3 separate regions of the Homo sapiens genome follow, and all the other regions are linked to region 2. The links are contacts of gene promoters, found by promoter capture Hi-C in blood cells and fetal thymus (Javierre and others, 2016). All regions are on one chromosome and are shown on one strand. Each heading gives the region's core, a stretch centred on a gene start or on the middle of the fragment in contact. The rest is flanking DNA. Distances are from core to core; before and after follow the strand shown.

Region 1 (3,016 bases), core at 372-2,871, 780 kb before region 2:
ACCCTCTGTCCCCTCGCCTTCCCCACCCTCTGTCCCCTCGCCTTCCCCACCCTCTGTCCCCTCGCCTTCCCCACCCTCTGTCCCCTCGCCTTCCCCACCCTCTGTCCGGTCACCTTCCCCACCCTCTGTCCCCTCGCCTTCCCCACCCTCTGTCCCGTCACCTTCCCCACCCTCTGTCCAGTCACCTTCCCCACCCTCTGTCCCCGCACCTTCCCCACCCTCTGTCTCCTCACCTTCCCCACCCTCTGTCCCCGCACCTTCCCCACCCTCTGTCCCCGCACCTTCCCCACCCTCTGTCCGGTCACCTTCCCCACCCTCTGTCCCCTCGCCTTCCCCACCCTCTGTCCCCTCGCCTTCCCCACCCTCTGTCCCCTCGCCTTCCCCACCCTCTCCTCGCCTTCCCCACCCTCTGTCCCCTCGCCTTCCCCACCCTCTGTCCCCTCGCCTTCCCCACCCTCTGTCCCCTCGCCTTCCCCACCCTCTGTCCCCTCGCCTTCCCCACCCTCTGTCCCCTCGCCTTCCCCACCCTCTGTCCCCTCGCCTTCCCCACCCTCTGTCCCCTCGCCTTCCCCACCCTCTGTCCCCTCGCCTTCCCCACCCTCTGTCCCCTCGCCTTCCCCACCCTCTGTCCCCTCACCTTCTCCACCCTCTGTCCCCTCACCTTCTCCACCCTCTGTCCCCTCACCTTCCCCACCCTCTGTCCCCTCACCTTCTCCACCCTCTGTCCCCTCACCTTCCCCACCCTCTGTCCCCTCACCTTCTCCACCCTCTGTCCCCTCACCTTCTCCACCCTCTGTCCCCTCACCTTCCCCACCCTCTGTCCCCTCGCCTTCTCCACCCTCTCTTCCCTCACCTTGTCCACCCTCTGTTTTCTCACCTTAGAAATGAGCAGAAAGGTGCAGAGATGGGCGATGGGTCTGGACAGATGTTTCTCCATAGACATACAGTGGCCAGTGAGCAGGGGGATGCTGCGTGGCACTGCCGGTCACTGGAGAATGCAGATTACAGCCCCAGTGAGACTCCGCTTCTCATGCATTCAGATGCTGAAGTCAGACAGTGCTGCAGCATGTGTTGGTGGGATGTGGAGGCCTGGCATGCACTGCTGATGGGAACAGCAATCGGTGTGACTGTTGTGGAAAGTAGGGTGACAGCCACTCAAAAGCTCAACCTCGGGCCTGGGTGCGGTGGCTTATGCCTGTAATCCCAGCACTTTGAGAGGCTGAGGAAGGAAGATTGCTTAAGTAAGGAGGTGGATACCAGACTGGGCAACATAGTGAGATGCCATCTCTACAAAAAGTAAAAAAAAATAGCTGGGAATGGTGCTGCACGCCTGTGGTCCTCAGCACCTAGGAGGCTGAGGTGGGAGGACCCCTTGAGCTCAGGAGGTTGAGGCTGCAGTGCACCGTGATGGCGCCATTGTTCGCCCTCTGCCTTTGATTGGAGAGTGATGATTTCCTCGTGCTGGCTGGAGACTGGAGCATCCCATGTGCATGCTTCCTGAACTTCTATCTGACTTTACTTGTATTATTATTATTGCAAAGGTAGAAACAAAAAGAGACGCAAGATGGTCGGGCACAGGACCCCTGTCCCCAGCTCATGAGGTGCCACCGGGATCTTTTTGCAGCCCTGGCCGGCCCTCTGTGCCCTGTGTCCCACCCTACTCCAAGTCCCAGCTATCCTGAGTCAGGTGCAGCAGCCTTCAGGAGCCAGTGGGGCTCACTGAAGCGGGTCTCACTGGCTGAGGTCCAGGCGTGAGCAGGGCTGGCCCCAGCTGGGAGCTCCTGAGGAGAACCAGCTGCTTATTCTGGAAGCCTCCCCGTTCCTTGGCTCATGGCACCCCCCCCATCTTCAAAGCCCATTGAGTCCTCCCATCCCACCTCTCTGGTATTCTTCCTGACCCCTCTTCCACTGATAAGAACTTTGTGATTATGCTGTGCCCACCAGGATGATCCAGGGTAATCTCTGTATCTTGGGTCAGCTGATGAGCAACCTCAACTTCCCCTGCAGCCTTAACTCCCCTCTGCTGCATGAGGCTGCGCCTTCACAGGCTCCCCCTGGGGATGAAAACACAGGCATCTTTGGGGCCATTCTTCTGCCAGCCGCCCCTCTCCCGGCATCGTTGTCTATGTCTGCTGCCTGTATTTGAATCCAGTGTACGTGCACACCTGAGTGGCCCTGCATCTCCCGGCAGCGTCCATGGTAAGATTCCCTGTGCTGACTCACAGAGCCAGACGTGGTGGCCCAGGCCCATAATCCCAGCTACTCAGGAGGCTGAGGCTGGAGAATCGCTTGAACCTGGGAGGCGGAGGTTGCAGTGAGCCAAGATGGAGCCACTGCACTCCAGCCTGGGCGACAGAGCAAGACTCCGTCTCAAAAAAAAACCCAAAAACAAAAAAAAACAAAAAAACTAGTAGTTAGACTGTGTGTTACCATGTGCTGATGTTTATTAGTTACTGAACTTGGGATTAACTGACTTCTTTGTCAACAAGGTCTAAACCAAGCCACACACCCTCATGGTAGCCTCTTCCAAGTCTGAGGTTTGCTGAGGGAGGGTGAGTGCAGCCCTGAAGTGGGAGCAACCGAAGCACAAAGCATGATGTGAGCAGGAGCCCAGCTCCCTCCAGCCACTGCAGACATTGCATCAAAAACTGCCCCCGTGTTGGCCAGGTGCGGCGACTCATGCCTGTGATCCAAGCACTTTGGGAGGCTGAGGCAGGAGGACCAATCGAGCACAGCGGTTCACAGACCAGCCTGGGCAATATAGTGAGACCCTGTCTCTTATTTTATCTATTTATTTATTTATTTTTGAGACAGAGTCTCGCTCTGTCACCCAGGCTGGAGTCAGTGGCGCGATCTCCGCTCACCACAATCTCCGCTTCCCGGGTTCACGCCATTCTCCTGCCTCAGCCTCCCGAATAGCTGGGACTACAGGCGCCCACCACCACGCCTGGCTAATTTTTTGTATTTTTTTAGTAGAGATGGTGTTTCACCGTGTTAGCCAGGATGGTCTCAATCT
Region 2 (2,915 bases), core at 74-2,573:
TCAGGGTGCTATCATTAGCTCTAGCCTACCTATGAAGAAACAAAAGTCCTCCATGTTAGGACATTTGAGGACATGCCCTTAGTACCTAACAGTGTCTGGCACATTTTAAATGGGAAGGTGGAAGGGCCCCCCCATTTTTTTTTTTTTTTAAGATGGAATTTTGCTCTTTTGCCCAAGCTGGAGTGAAGTGGCTTGATCTCAGCTCATTGCAACCTCTGCCCCCTGGGTTCAAGCAATTCTCCTGCCTCAGCCTCCCAAGTAGCTGGGATTACAGGTGCCCACCACCACGCCTGGCTAATTTTTGTAGTTTTAGTAGAGACGGGGGTTTCACCATGTTGGCTAGGCTGGTCTCGAACTCCTGACCTCGTGATCCACTCACCTCGGCCTCCCAAAGTGCTGGGATTACAGGCGTGAGCCACCGCGCCCGGCAGGGACTGTCTTACTCAGGATCTGCAAAATCTTATAACTGTGTGAAATTTTTTTTCTGGGAAAAAAGCACTCATTTGTTTGGTCTGAGGGGAAAAAATGGGGCTAGCCCAAGAGTCGCCCACTTAGTTCTACCCAGGGCGAAGCAATGTGCCTTAACGGGGGGCACGTGCACCCCGGAAAACTCAAGAGAAAATGAGCCGGGCGTGGTGGGCTCCTGTGGTCCCAGCTACTCCAGAGGCGGAGGTTACAGCGAGCCGAGATCGCGCTACCGCACTCCAGCCTGGGCGACAGAGCAAGACCCTGCCTCAAAAAAATAGAAATAAAAAATAAAACTCAGAGGGCACGTCTCCTAGGACACGGGGACAGGCTAGGTGGGGGCACAGGGCGTGAGAATTGGCGAGCATGGCCGGGGTATGTCAGGCCGGGGCTGCCATCTTTTTTGTTTTTTGAAACAGGATCTCGCTCTGTCGCCCAGGTTGGGGTGCAGGGGCGCATTGCTGCCTGGAACTCCTTGACTCAAGCGATCTTCCCGCCTCACCTTCCCGAGGAGCTAGGACCACTGGGCGCGAGACACCACGCCCGGTTAATTTTTTTTTTTTTCTTCTGTAGCGACTGGGGGTGGGGGGTGGTGTCTCGCTTTGTTGCCCAGGCTGATCTCGAACTCCTGGACTCAAGCGATCCGCCCGCCAAGGCCTCCCAAAGCTCCAGGGTTACAGGCATGAGCCACCGCGCCCAGCCCGGGGCCGGTCATCTTTTCCGGGGCCTTATGCAGAGTCCGAGGCCCCCGAGCCCGCTGCCGAAGACGGAGCTCCAAGACCGAACCTCGTAAAGGGCCCAGCCGCACCTCTACCCGGAAGCGGCTCGAACTCGGGGCCGGAAGTGACTCCATTTCTGTGCGCCGAGCTCCGCCCCACGAGCACCTGTTTCCGAGCGGAGAGCGCGGGCCGTTTTCTTTCCTGGTGTCCCGTCGCGGCTTGGGACCCGGCAAGATGGGCAAGAAGGGCAAGAAGGAGAAGAAGGGCCGCGGCGCGGAGAAGACGGCCGCCAAGATGGAGAAGAAGGTGTCTAAGCGCTCGCGGAAGGAGGAGGTGAGCGGGTCAGACCGGGCTTAGCGGCCCGACGTCGCGGCCGTGCAGCCTCGGCCGACTCCCTGCGCCCCCCGGGGTTACGGGTCGGCCGTGGGAGCCGCGCCGGCCCTGCGGGAGAGCTGGAGGCCGTAGGAACTGCCCCGGCGCCGCGTCCGGGCAGCCCAGACGGGGCCCGCCCCCTCCTGAGTCTCCACGTGTGTCTGTCCGCTTCTCGGAGCTGCCCCCTTTAACGTGCTTGCTTTTCTTAGTGTGGTGTCACGGGCGTTTTTCTGCGTTTCCTCCCCCTCCTCCCTTCTCCCTCCACCCTCCCTCTGAAGGGAGGCTGGGTGGTGAGAAGAGGGAGGGGTTTGGCACAGGAAGACCTGAGGTTGAGCCGGGGGCTGCCTCTGCATGATGTGTGGTCTGGGAGTAAGACTCTTAACTTTTCTGAACCTTACTTTTCTTTCAAAAGAGGGCAAATAATCATCACAGCAGCCCTGAGCAGTGAGCAGCAGATGGTTAAGTGAAGAAGGCACTGGAGCCACGGGGTATCCCGTAGCAGCTGATGGCGGCCATCACGGTTGTCTCCTTCCCTCTGGTCCTCAGCCCGGGGTCTGCAGGAGGATCCGTCCTGACCTTGGGGTTGAGTGTTCTGCGGCTGCTGCTCATGGATTCCCTAACCGGGGCCAGTTTTATGGCCTGCCGTGCGCCAGGCACAGCTCCCTGGGCTTTACTCCTCACGAGCAGGTCAGTTCCGTAGCACTGGTATTCCCATTTGACAGGAAGACCAACAGGTGAACCATGAAGTGGTATGGAACTGGGATGTGACCAGATGTCCTGAATCAGGAGCTCTTGACCACAGTCCTTTGTCCCTTTTCTTCCTAAGTCATTGATCTCTCCATGTCCTCATCTCTTAAATAATGGAGTTGGACTTTTCCCTCACACTCCTCTTAGGCTCTTTCTTTTTTTTTTTTTTTTTTTTGACAGAGTCTTGCTCTGTCACCTAGGCTGGGCTGCAGTGGCATGACCTGCTGGCTAGGGTTGTGGCACAGGAAGTCAGTTCATCTGTGTGGTATCTTCAGAATGGTGCTTGGCAGAAAGTAAGCACTCAGTAACCAGCTGTTAGCTGCTTTCTGCTTTTTTTTTTTTTTTTTTTTTTTTTTTTTGAAGGAGTTTCACTCTTGTTGCCCAGGGTGGAGTGCAATGGTGCGATCTCAGCTCACTGCACCTCCGCCTCCCAGGTTCAAGTGGTTCTCCTGCCTCAGCCTCCCAAGTAGCTGAGATTACAGGCATGCACCACCACACCCAGCTAATTTTGTATTTTTAATAGAGACCGGGTTTCACCGTTTTGGTCAGGCTGGTCTGGGACTCCTGACCTCAGGTGATGCGCTCGCCTCGGCCTCCCAAAGTGCTGGGATT
Region 3 (2,742 bases), core at 118-2,617, 760 kb before region 2:
AGCAGCAGAGCCTGAACTCACACCCGGGTCTGCGTATCTGTGTTCTCCCCACTGCTCGCCCACCCTTGCCCCCAGAGTGCTGGGTGTGAAACCGCTGTTCCCACAGGGGCTGGACCTGGTAGAGGCTCCTTCCACACAGGCCCTAGATGCCTCCAGAATGACCTCTGTGGGCTGGGGCCGAGATTAGCCCAGAAGATACGGCACTTCCCTAGCAACCCTCGGGCCTCAGTGTCCTCCTGACAGCATGGCTCCCCTCCCTGCCACAGGGCGTGGCAGGGCCACCTGCGTTCCCGCTCGCTCCCGGGGCCGGCACACGGCGGACGCTGGGGAGCACCTGGTGGACTCAGCAGGTCTGTCCCCACCCTGAGGCTGGTCAGGCCCCTTCCTGTGGGCCTGAGACACCAGCACTGTGTTGGATCGGCCCTGGCCCCCCTGGCCTCACTGTCACCCTGGAAAGCAGGCAGTACCCTCCTCTCCATCTCATGGGTGAGGAAACTGAGGCCTGGGAAGGGGAGGGACAGAGCTCATGCCAGTGCCTCGGGCCATGCCATGCTGTCGGCGGTGGCTCAGGCTAAGTCTGGAAGGAAAACACTCTGGGCCGAGCCCGTGGAGGCCGCCTCGTTTCCTGCATCCATTGCACCCCGGCCCCCAGCTGAATGGCAGAGGAAATGCGAGGGGCCCCATCCCAGTGCAGTCGGGGGCTGGGACAGGGCGAGGTGGGGCGGGCAGTCCATGGCCTCGCTCTGTGGTGCCCAACACTGGTCAGACATCAAGGGGAGAAAATGGTGACGGAGGAAGGGGTGACCGCCGCTGCCCCTCAGGCCTCGGTCCCTCCTGCAAGGCTGACTCAGCCTCAGTGCCCTGACCCTCAGCCCTGTGCTGCTCACTGCACTGGTGGTCCCCAAGCTTAGCCACCTGGGTGTCCAATCTGGAGGCACAGCATACACGCGTGCTCCAGCACTTCCTGTAAACACACTTTTTGTTCTATACAAATGAATGCCTTTTAATCAGAAACTTCCTGCACCATGACCTTTGCCTGAAAAGCCAGTGTCACCTACAAATGCTGCCGCTGGCCCGGGACAGGTTTGTGCAGCCCTGTGGTGAGGATGGCAGTCAGCCCAACCCTGCCATGGTACAAGGGGTCGGGCTGGTGACAGTGCAGGGATGTCCCCTGTGGGTCTGGGGTACCTCCCCACTAGGTGCCAGCCCATGAGCTTTCCTGGACTTTGCCAGCACGCGTGGGACCCTGTGGGCCGCAGAGGTGGGCAGTGGGGTCCCAGCCAGGCTCGGCCTCCCTGCTGCGACCTTGGGCAGGGCACGACCAGACCCGTATGCAGGGACCCCTCTGGGCCACCCCTGCCTCTTGGCCCATCCGCAGGGCACTCAGGAATCTAGCAAGATACAGCCTTTGGGCTGGGACGTTCAGTGACTACTCAGGCAAGGTTCAGGCGGGCTGGCCAGCAGAGCAGGTGGCTTCCACGTCACCTGCCTGCTACCACACGGCTCAGCCACAGAACGGGTGAGCAGAGCTAAGCTGGCCAGTGGGGTGGGTGCCCTGGCTGGGGTGGGTGCAACCCTGCAGTCCCAGTGTGAAGCCGTCCCCAGCAGCCACCCCAACCCCTGGCTCAGGTTCTCCTCTGCAGACGGGGCTCTGCCCTCTCCCCACATGGCTGTTGGGGGGACAGAGGGGCGGCCGAGCCCCTGCTCACTCTGGACCCACCCGAAGCCCACCATTAGCCTTTGGGGCAGTCTCAGGGGGGTCAGTCCTATCTCCTTTGACTCAGTTTCCTCCCGGTATGTTGGGAGGCCATGATCTGTGTGAAGCTTTTTGCCTGCCTGGCAGGTTCCCAGCACAGGATGCATATTAGCTCCAGCCCTGGCTGTTGCTTTTGGGTTGACCTGGCAGGACAAAGTGGGCATGGGGTGCCGTCCACAGGGCATGTCCGGGGCAGCACATGCTGAGTGTCCACTGTGGTGAGTGGCTGCCCCGAGAAAGGTGCTTTGTGCAGGCTGGCATCGGGTGGGTGCCCCCCTTTTAAAGGACACCCCCGTGATTCCCAGGGCCGCAGAGCAGGGCTCAGGAACTGCACGCCAGCTGTGGGGCTCTGCCGGCTCCGATGGGGGCTTCTGCTGGGGCAGGCTGGGGGGTAAACCCCAGGGGCAATGGGCAGGCACATTCCTGGCACAAAGGTGGGTGACCGGCGGCTACTGTGTCCCGGCTGCTCCCGAGCCAGGCGGGCAGCGCTCGGCGAGGCTGCTGGGGCCTGGCCCTCCCCACCCTGGCCTTCCTGAGCCTCTAATGAATATTAATGAGCAGAGGAGGGTGAAAAAAATTAATCTGCTTGATCCTCCGATGGGTGCTGCGGTAACGATATGAAATCTAATTATTCGTCCCAATATTTCTAAACCCTCAAACTGAGACTGACAGCCTGCCGGCCGGTTTAATGCTTATCACTCCCAGGAGCAGCGTGTTCCCAGCATGATAAAAACACGCGCCGCAACTGTGCTGACGCTGCACGCACCCCCGATTTTTCTGTGGCGGTCCCGAGTGGAGGGCAGGCGCCATGTTCCCGCCCGGCCCCGCCGAGTGCACCCCGCGTATGTGGGGCGCGACGGGGCGCCTGGCCTGGCTGTGCGGGTGGGGAGGGGCAGGGGGAAGGAGGGTGAGGCTCCCATCCGGCACCCGCCCCCGACCCGGGAGGGAACAGGTAGGAGACCTAGGGGTGCAAGATAAGCAGCTCC

The links. The method cuts DNA at HindIII sites, captures the fragments that hold promoters and counts their contacts. A CHiCAGO score of 5 or more calls a contact.
Region 1: a fragment that was not itself captured here is called in contact with the fragment with the promoter of KLHDC4 in region 2 in 1 of 17 cell types (naive B cells); the score reaches 5.2 in naive B cells.
Region 3: a contact is called between a fragment that was not itself captured here and the fragment with the promoter of KLHDC4 in region 2, in 1 of 17 cell types (naive B cells). The highest score is 8.4, in naive B cells.

Annotation. Positions count from the first base shown.
Region 1 is chr16:88,544,704-88,547,719 of GRCh38, reverse strand. No RefSeq gene overlaps it. Among named protein-coding and RNA genes, the nearest start is that of ZFPM1-AS1, 15 kb to the right of the region's middle. The HindIII fragment of the contact is 6,306 bases long and covers 1-3,016 here.
Region 2 is chr16:87,764,394-87,767,308 of GRCh38, reverse strand. KLHDC4 (kelch domain containing 4) reads left to right here and starts at 1,323. Exons shown (of 12, transcript NM_017566.4): 1 at 1,323-1,517. The coding sequence starts at 1,419. LOC105371399 (a long non-coding RNA gene) reads right to left here and starts at 1,268. Exons shown (of 3, transcript XR_933871.3): 1 at 968-1,268. LOC102724467 (a long non-coding RNA gene) reads left to right here. Exons shown (of 4, transcript NR_120309.1): 4 at 885-978. RefSeq lists enhancers at 1,228-1,287, 1,368-1,427, 1,411-2,035. The HindIII fragment of the contact is 5,415 bases long and covers 1-2,915 here.
Region 3 is chr16:88,523,752-88,526,493 of GRCh38, reverse strand. All of the region lies in intron 4 of ZFPM1 (zinc finger protein, FOG family member 1), which reads right to left. All of the region lies in intron 2 of ZFPM1-AS1 (ZFPM1 antisense RNA 1), which reads left to right. Among named protein-coding and RNA genes, the nearest start is that of ZFPM1-AS1, 5.9 kb to the left of the region's middle. RefSeq lists enhancers at 1-446, 447-1,034. The HindIII fragment of the contact is 918 bases long and covers 909-1,826 here.